Regions from separate parts of the Homo sapiens genome. Here regions 2 and 3 are each linked to region 1. The links are contacts of gene promoters, found by promoter capture Hi-C in blood cells and fetal thymus (Javierre and others, 2016). All regions are on one chromosome and are shown on one strand. Each heading gives the region's core, a stretch centred on a gene start or on the middle of the fragment in contact. The rest is flanking DNA. Distances are from core to core; before and after follow the strand shown.

Region 1 (3,029 bases), core at 7-2,506:
GATTTGAGGTCAAATTCAAGTTGGATCCCCAAGAAAGGAGGGGAGCCATGAAGAACAAATCCTGAAAGACTGAACGGGGGAAGCTGGGGGCAGGGAGGCAGGTGGTCCCCCAAATCCTCTCCTTGTGCCCTGCCAGGAGGTGGGACCCCACTCACTCTCCCCCTGGGTTCCAACTCCCAGCACAGTCATAACAGCTCAAACAAATGCCCCCTTCCCATGGGCATCCCCCACCTGCCTCAGCCACCCCCTTTCCTGGAGCCCTAAAGGCATCCCCAGCCCCTGGTTTCAACAGGGAGGATTATCCCCAGTCCCAAAACCCTCTTGTTGAAGCTGATGCTGGCTGAGGCCTGCCATCAGGGGCTTCTGGGGGGGCTCACAACCACCCCCTGCCCAGCTGGGGCCCCTCTGAAAAGGCCGGCCCGCTTGGGCGGCCGCGTATCTGTCCCTCCCTTCCAGGCCCCGTGCTGTGCCGGGGCTGGGGGCCCGAGAGGGGGATGCTGCTGGGGCTGGGCCAGGTTACCTTCAGGAGGAAAGTTTTGGGTTTGGGTCCCCTCTTCTTGGGCCCATACAGCTCACGCTCCCTCTCCCTGCGGCCGAAAAACACCAGAGGTTAAAAAGAGCCCCTTCCCGGGCCCCACTCCGCGCTGCCCTCCCCGGCTCTCCCGCTTCCCCGCGCGGCGCCCCAGCCGAGCCTCGGCCTCGCAGCCCCTGCCAGCTTCCCCAACAACTCACTTTTGTTCGAAGGCTGCAATGAGCCGCGAGTCCAGGATGTTCTCCTCGGGCTCCCAAGTGCTGTACCTGCCGAGTCACAAACGCACAAAATCAGGATGAAGACCAGAGAGGGACAGGCACGCGGCGAGAGCAAGAGCGCGCACCCCCACCCCAGGCCCCGGTGCCCGCTGCCTCCCCTCCCGCGACGCCCCCGGACCCCGCGACACTCACTTGATCGCCCACCCCTTCCATTTCACCAGGTACTCGATGCGTCCCTGAAAAACAGAGGGGAGAAAAACGGGGGTGGGGGTGGGGAGGATGCGGGGACGCGAGGAGGCGGCGGCGCGGGGCTGGGCGAGGGAGCCGGGCTAGCGGGACCGCTTCGCCCCGAGGGCCCCCGGCCCCGGCCCCGGCTGCGGACAGCGGCGGCCCGCCCCGGGCGGCGGCTCACCTTTCGGATCCGCCGTTTGATGATGGATTCGGCCGCGAAGACCCGCTCGCCCACTGCAGACAGCTCCATCTTGCTCAGCGGCACCCACAGCCCATAATACTCCCTGCGCCCGCGGCCGGTGCGGCACCGCTCGCGCACGCGCCGCAGCGCCCAGGCCCCGGCGGGCGGGAGCGCGGCGGGGCGCGCGCTCGCGTTCCAGCTGCGGGCCGTCACGTGATCCTCGCGGCTGGCGCGCGGTTGCCAGGACCTCCCCCTCCCCCGGGGCGGTTGCTAGGGAAAGTCGGCGCTCGCGGGGCGGGGGCGCGCGCTGGCTCTTAAAGGGGCCGCGCGGGCGGAGGGAGCAATTGCCGGCCGACCCGATGGGTGCCCGGCTTGTGGGCACGCTGCGGCCTTACGCTTATCACCCCCCCTCACATCTTGCCGGCGCCCGATCGCTGACACCCTCTCCTTGCCTCTTAATCCCCACGCGAGTCTCGCCAGGCCCCGGGCGGAGAAGGGCTGTGGAGCCCGAGTCTCGCCGCCACCGCGCATCTCCCGCAGCAGCCTGCAAACAGTTAAATATGATGCAGCAGAAATGCAGTTGCTGTTGCCTTGCCAGGCCTTGCGGGAATTTCTTTAAAACATCGCCCCCCACCCATTATTTATGTATTCGTGGGAGGGTGGTTTTGTAACCAGTTCAGAAGAGTTAAAACAAAAACGCCACCGCAGGAAGGGGGTGTGCGGCGAATGGGGCCGAGGAAGGCCGGAGTGACCGTGGGCATCTGTCTGCGGCCGGGGTCTCGGGCGGCACCTGTCCTCGCCCAGGAGACCGGGGAGGATTCGGCGGGGCCGGTGTGGCAGTGGGGGAGGGAGAGGGACCGCGGGCAGGAACGGGCTCCCCGCACTCCGCCTTGGGCCCACAGCGGGTCATCATCTGGTCATTCGGCAGAAACCGCCTTCGCGGTCATATCTGTGTTTTCCGATTCCCAGCACCCCTCCCGGCCCCCCGACCTGGCCGCGTCCCTCTCCCCGCCCGCAGCTGCGCGAAGCTTCCGCCATTGCTCTGGGGAGCCCAGATCCCAGCTTCCCACTTGAGGAGGGGCGGGGGATCGAGCTGGGGCTGTCCAGGAACGGACACACAAAAAATAGCCCTGCCGCGCAAAACGCTCCACTTTTTAAATGTTGAAATTACTTGAACTTTATTTCCCATTATGTTAGTAGTCTTGTTCTTTGTAAAACAATTTTAAAAATACAGATAAAACAACTGTCCATAACCCCCATAAAACCATTGTTAACATCTTCACCAATCTTCCAGCCTCTGCTCTATGCGTACATAAACTCACGTACACCTATGTATGTATGTATATACATACACATACACATTGTCTGTAGATTTAATTTTTTAACAAAATGGGATCACGCTATTCACACTGTTCTGGAATCTGCTTTTCTCCCTTAATGCTATAAAGTGGACATCTTTCAGTGTCATTAAATACAGATTTCACCATCCTTCCAGTGACCACCTTGGGGCTGAGATGGGGTGGGGAGGAATGGGGATTGTGAAGAGTCAGGGTTGTGTCTTGCGAACATCAATGGCTCATTAGGAAAGATTTTTGCGTTTCTGTGCTACAATGCCAATTCTTGGGTTTCAAATCCACCATAGCAAAATGTTAGTCTTTTTCTCCCAGCAGATTTGTCCAATTATTACCTTGAGAGAAATCCCTCTCCTCACTTAAAATCAGTATGTTCCAGGGAAACAGCTATTTGCTGGCCAGCCCAAGGTGAGCTGCTGTGGTAAAAATAGAAATGTCCTCCTGGGAGATGTGGGTGGTGGTGGGTGAGCAGGTGAGAGGAGTGGGTATGACAGTGTGTGTGTGTTCAGGCTGAC
Region 2 (3,002 bases), core at 1-2,500, 370 kb after region 1:
CTGTCACCCCCGGACCTCGCTCCCAGCCCGAAGAGGTCACCCAGCGCCCGGCGTCAGGCTCGCGGGCTGCAAGGGTCCAAAGTTCACTGCAGGGAGAGGAGGGGGCGGTCAGAAGGGGGGGGCGAAGGTAATGAATGAAGAACCAGCCCCAGCCGCCGTGGCAACTCACCTCGGCGCTGACCAGACGCAGGTAGCAGCAGAGAGACAGGAAGAGCGCCCAGCAGCGATTCATGCCGACTCCGGGCCCGGCCCCGCGGGGCCCCGGACGCGTAGATCGAGCGCGCCGCCCCCGCGGCCAGGGTGGGGGGCTGGGGAGGGGGGTGGGCTCGGCTCGGGTCCGCGGCGATCAGGCGCTCAGGCCTCTGCAGCCGCGGCTCACCCGCATGGCCCCCGGGCGCCGCCGCCCCCGGCCCCGGCTCCGTCGCTGGGGGGCAGGGGAGGACCTGGGCGCAGGACCTGGGTCCGAGGCCGCTACCTGGGCGGATCCCGAGCCCGAGTGAGCATCCACGGCCGGGGGGCTGCGTCGCGAACCAGCCGAGGCGTCTAGCCGTGTGGGGGCGCCCAGGGGACTCCAACCTCCAAGAGGAAAAGGAACACGGCAGTCGATGGTTCGTCTTCACTCGCCGGCTACAGGCGTTTTCCTCTGCCCGCCGGCTTAGCTTTTTTGCAACATTTTCTGGAAAGGCCCCCAAAATCGGAAAGCGCGGAGCTGGGCACCTCAAGGCCCAAGTCTCCCCCAAAAAACTTTTTCCAAAGTTGGCTTTGCAACGGCAGCTCGAGCACCCGGGCAGGGAGAGGTGCAAACTCCCGCCCGGGCCGGGTAGGGGGGCGGGAGCGTGTGCGCCCTGGCGCGGGGCCCGGGCGGCGGGCACGGCTGCTCCGCGCGCGCGGCGTGCCCGCTGCGCGCTCGGCTGGGCCCGGCCGACAGGTGGACGCGGCGCGAGTCCGTCGGTCCGTCTGCCCGCCCGCTCGCCGCTCTGGGCGTCCTCTGCGGGCTGCGGGCTGCGAGCTGCGAGCTGCGAGCTGCGGCTGCTCCGGTTTTCTCTTTGCAGCGAGGCTGGAGGGTGGGCTTTTTTTTTTTTTTTTCCTTTTTGCGCGCGTATGTATGTGTGTGCGCGCAAAGTATCTCTATCTAGGGAATGAAAAATGGGCGCTGGCGGCCGGAGGGGAGCCCTAGGGAGGCAGCGGGGGAGGCTGCGGGTGCGCAGGGAGGCAGGCAGGCCGCTCCCGGCTGCAGGAGGAGAAGTTGCCACCCTTTCAGCTGTTCCGGCCTTTATAAAGGAGAAGGGAGAGTGCGAGAGGTGGGTGGAGACAGCCTTTCCTCTTCTGGCCCGGAGTCAGCGCCAGGAGGGGGGGGACGCGGGAGCTGGGGGAGGGCTTGGGGCCAGGGCGGGGCGCTTAGGGGGTCTCTGAGAGCCGAGCAACCCTTCAGTCCATGAATCTGGCCCTGGGGAAAAAAGAACTAGGGGTGACCCACCGTCCCGCCCCTCAGCACAGTGACCATGGACAGGTTAGGAGCCCACGTGGTCTAGGGGGATGTCTCCAGAGCCAAGGCCAGGAGTCCACGCTCCCCTCCAGGACCAGACATTTCCACCCTGGCACAGGCATGGCAGGGAGGGACTCAGGCTCTGCAGTCTGAGAGCCTGAATTCAGATCCTGCCCTGGCACTCGGGAGCTTGGGTCACCTTGGGCAAGTCACTTCCCTCTGTCCCCTCCATCTAGCCTCAACCTGGAGATGGGGCTATTGTAAGGACTCAGTGTTAGCAAGGGAAGACACCGCAAGGTGAACCCACAGAACCCGGCAGCCAGCGCCCTTCAGCTGCAAGCTGGGTCCGAGTCTCCTCCTCCTAGCTGGTTGCCTGGCACAACAGGCCCTGCCAGCGTTGGCTGAATTTGAATTTGTTGAACTGCAAAGTCACACAAACCCCCACAGCCCTGCAGCATCTTCGCAGGGCTACCAACATGATCTTCCCGTCAGTCACCCTGCTGTTTACTATCTCCCTCAGCCCCCGGGTTCGAGGCCCAGAGCCCACCCACCCACAACCAGCCTTCACACAGTTAACGCCTTCTGCCCCCAGTCAGGGAGCTGCTGTGTCCCTGCCTTCAGCAGTCACACTGTCTCAGTCACAGTCACACGTACTCACACTGGGCCCAGCACCCCCCTCGGGACACGCAGGCTCCTGCATCACCCAGCCTCCCGGCTTTGAGGCACCCTCATCTCCTCCGCTTGCACTGTCTCTGTTATCCGCCCTTCCCTTTGGGATGTCAGCCTGCTTCTCACAGAGGAGCACACTGAGAGAGTCACACCTGCTCTCTCTTCATAGACTGTCTTCTTGGACCTGGACAGGGTGGAACAGAGGAGGAAGGACATCTCAGGTGGTCTTTACAGACCACTGCAGGCACCCACCCACTGCTGCCTACCACCCAGCAGCGTGGCACAGTGGCAGAGACACAGCCTGAAGACACATCACCTTGGTCCAAATCCTGGAGTGGCCACTTGCTGGACAAGTGTCTGCAGGAAGGTTTTTTAACCTCTCAGTACCTCGGTTTCCTCCTTTATAAACTGGAGATGAATTTATAAACTGGAGCTGGGTGTGGTAACAAGCTCCTGTAGTCCCAGCTACTCAGGAGACTGTGGATCGTTTTGAGCCCAGGAGTTTGAGGCTGCAGTGAGTTGTGACTGTGCCACTGCACTCCAGCCTGGGCAACAGAGCAAGACCCTATCTCTAAAGAAATAAAAATAAATCTATAATGGGAAGGAGTGAGAGAGAACAGAGAGGCATGGCAAAATTTTAGTGGTGATGGAAATGTTTGTCATTTTTGATTGTGGTGATGGGCTTATGGGTGTATACGTACATCACAACAAAATGTGTGCAGTTTGTTGTACCTCAGTGCAGTTGTAGAGAATTTTTACCCTGCTCCTGGAGTGGTCTGGAGGCTCCCATGAGGTCCTCCATGTGGAGGCGCTCAGCAAAACACCTTAGCAGGAAGCAAGCGCCTGG
Region 3 (2,889 bases), core at 389-2,888, 480 kb after region 1:
GTTTATCAATTGTTTCTTTTATGAATCATGTTCTTCATGATTTTTTTTTTTTTTTTTTTTTTTTGAGACGGAGTCTCGCTCTGTTGCCAGGCTGGAGTGCTGTGGCGCGATCTCGGCTCACTGCAACCTCCACCTCCTGGGTTCAAGTGATTCTCCTGCCTCAGCCTCCCAAGTAGCTGGGACTACAGGAGCTCGCCACCACGCCCGGCTAATTTTTGTATTTTTAGTAGAGACCGGGTTCACCATGTTGGCCAGGATGGTCTCAATCACTTGACCTTGTGATCCATCCACCTTGGCCTCCCAAGGTGCTGGGATTACAGGCGTGAACCACTGCGCCCGGCCTTCTCTTGTGCTTTCTTCTAAAAGTTTTATATAGTCATAGTAGACACCTTATAAGTGTGCTGGATTAAATGTGAAAATGTATGTAAAGCCCTTAGCACAAGGCCTGGTAGAGACTAAACAATCAGCTGAGCCTAAGATGGACATTGACTATGTAATTTTTATAAGGAGCACCCTCAGGCCCAGCACACATTTCCTCCACACAGATGTTGTGTCCTGTCATCACAGAATGGCAGGATACCAGAGAAGCAAAAGCCTCCACCCATATCCTCATCCAACCTGCTCCTGGAACCAGTGAAGGTGACTGCAGACATAGAGAGGCCATAGAGCTACAGGGCAGCAGGAGAGCCAGCCCTGGAAGGTGGCCCTTCCCCTGCAGGGAGCACTCCTCCATCTAGCCTCCGTTTCCATGAAACCTGGAGGTCTAGCCCAAGCTGTGATGGGGTGATGGGGACTAGGCTCTGTTTACTGAGCACCTACTGTATGCTAGGCCCTTGGGTAAGGCATTGAATAAGTTAGACAACACCTGGGCCTCGGGAGCTCACAGACTAGCAGCAGAAGAGGCCATGAACAAATGATTGCGTAATTAATTGCTAGATTCAGGAAAGGGGCAACGTTCTGGGGTAGGAGGGGATGGGGAAGAGGAAGTCTCAGCCGCCGCCTCTGTGCCAGGCCCCTCCAGGCTGGGGGTGGGAGGGTGCGCGGGCACAGGGACACACATGACGTCATCGTAAGAGGCAGGGGAAGGGTGGTCCTGGGAGGTGGGGGCTGCTCTGGAGGGCTGTAAGAGAGGGTCATTCACTCGTGGTTCATTCATTCGAGAAATATTCATGCGGCGCCTACTGCGTACCAAGCACCCTCTAAGAAGGACGAACACAGCTCCTGCCCTCTCATTATATTTGGGGCCGACAAAGTGGCAGGAAACAGCCAAACAAATCAAGCGTGAAGATGGTTTCAGCAGAGCCGACGGCTCAGAGGGGCTGCGACCGGGGCAGGGGACCGGGGATGCGGGGCAGGGACACGGCCCACACTTGCTGTGCACGCACCGCCCTCCCCCAAACACTTTGCAAAGAGGTCACCGCACTGGCTGCGAGCGCGCCCTGAGCCCCGGGCCGCAGCACGCGCGCCCCCGCGCCCGAGGTCGCGCGCTGCCCAGCCCCCCGCCCGCGCCCCGCGAGCTGCGCCCGCCGCGCACGACGCCCCCTCGCGGGAGCCCTGGGCCGCCGGCCGCGCGCGCAGGGGAGGGGGCGGGGGCGCCGCGCACGCGCACGGGCCGGCGGCGCGCGCCGAGCGGGGGGCACCGCGCGGGTGCAGCCACGATGGAAGGGGGTGCGTACGGAGCGGGCAAAGCCGGGGGCGCCTTCGACCCCTACACCCTGGTCCGGCAGCCGCACACCATCCTGCGCGTCGTGTCTTGGGTAAGGACGGACTGGCCGACGGCTCTGCCAGGCCGGGGTGGTGGGGGTGTGAGCAAAGGCGGCGCGCCCGGACCGACCCCGACCCCGACCCCAACGGGCCCCCGGCGGCGGCGCGGCGGCGGGCGAGGAGCTGTCCTGCCTGCGGGGCCCGCTGCCGCCGCTCCTCCTTCCCGGGCCCGGGGCGGGCGGGATCCCTGGTGCTCGCGGGAGACGCCGCTCCGGCTCCCGGAGCCCTGGTTTCCTGGGGCCCCCGGTTCGTGCGCCCCCCTTCCCGCCCCGATTGCTGTGACCTCCAGGCCGCGGCTATGCCGCGAAAGGCTCGGATTGTGCGCGGCCGCCAGGGCGGACTGGGGACCGTGGGGACGGAGCCAGGGTTTAAGGTGGCCTTTTTTGGGGGGTGGATCAGGGCGTGGACCATCTCGGTGGGGTGCATGCCGCGCCTGCGATGGACGTTGGAGGAGGAGAGGGCCGGGAACCGGGTTCGTATTGCCTAGCCCGGCCCGTGTGGAGCGATGAGTCGGGAACTGAGTACCTCTCTTCCACCCGGGAACTGCCTCTCCTTCTCTGCGTGACCTTGGGCTGGGAGCCACCCAGGAAATGTTCTCGAGAAATGAGGACTTCAATTCCGAGGTGGGGAGTGTCATCTCCTCTCTCATGCCTCAGTTTCCCAATTTATAGACAAGGTGGGCGGAGCCTTCTTGAGGCCCCCTTGGGCTCTGACATTTCATGAACCGGTAACACCCCTCCCACTCAGCATGCACCTGGATGCCCAAGGCGGGTGTCTGGGAGAAAGGTCTGCTCCCACAGTGAAGAGGCCAGGGTGGCCTCCAGCCTAGCTGGGGGGCAGGGTCCTCAGTGCAGAGGGCTGAGTGGGCTCTTGTTCAGACGGGTGGTCAGGGAGAGGATGGGTCAGAGACAGTGAGCACAGAGGGAGGGGTTCAGGTGCCTTGAGTGGCACCTCATGGAAAGAAGCCCTGCTGGGGTCTGGAGAGGGGGTTTCTGGGGCTCCCTGGGTTTGGCTGGCTGTATCCCAGAAACTCCCACTCGAGGTTCTGGCCTCTGCAGGCCTGGGGCCCGTTCCTTGTGGGCTTAGACTAGGAATGGGCTAGACTGTCAGGGACCCCAGGGGCTA

What was found. The method cuts DNA at HindIII sites, captures the fragments that hold promoters and counts their contacts. A CHiCAGO score of 5 or more calls a contact.
Region 2: a contact is called between the fragment with the promoter of PDGFB here and the fragment with the promoter of CBX6 in region 1, in 1 of 17 cell types (erythroblasts). The highest score is 5.6, in erythroblasts.
Region 3: the fragment with the promoter of SYNGR1 here is called in contact with the fragment with the promoter of CBX6 in region 1 in 7 of 17 cell types (neutrophils, total CD4 T cells, total B cells and 4 more); the score reaches 10.6 in neutrophils.

The regions. Positions count from the first base shown.
Region 1 is chr22:38,870,960-38,873,988 of GRCh38, forward strand. It overlaps CBX6 (chromobox 6), which reads right to left and starts at 1,257. Exons shown (of 5, transcript NM_014292.5): 1 at 1,163-1,257; 2 at 943-986; 3 at 733-798; 4 at 521-587. The coding sequence starts at 1,231. RefSeq lists silencers at 879-928, 1,029-1,178, 1,209-1,468 and enhancers at 1,463-2,013, 2,014-2,563, 2,400-3,029. The HindIII fragment of the contact is 16,779 bases long and covers 1-2,188 here.
Region 2 is chr22:39,243,732-39,246,733 of GRCh38, forward strand. PDGFB (platelet derived growth factor subunit B) reads right to left here and starts at 1,251. Exons shown (of 7, transcript NM_002608.4): 1 at 170-1,251. The coding sequence starts at 232. The HindIII fragment of the contact is 5,201 bases long and covers 1-3,002 here.
Region 3 is chr22:39,348,353-39,351,241 of GRCh38, forward strand. It overlaps SYNGR1 (synaptogyrin 1), which reads left to right and starts at 1,639. Exons shown (of 4, transcript NM_004711.5): 1 at 1,639-1,757. The coding sequence starts at 1,659. RefSeq lists a silencer at 1,686-1,845. The HindIII fragment of the contact is 7,483 bases long and covers 1-2,889 here.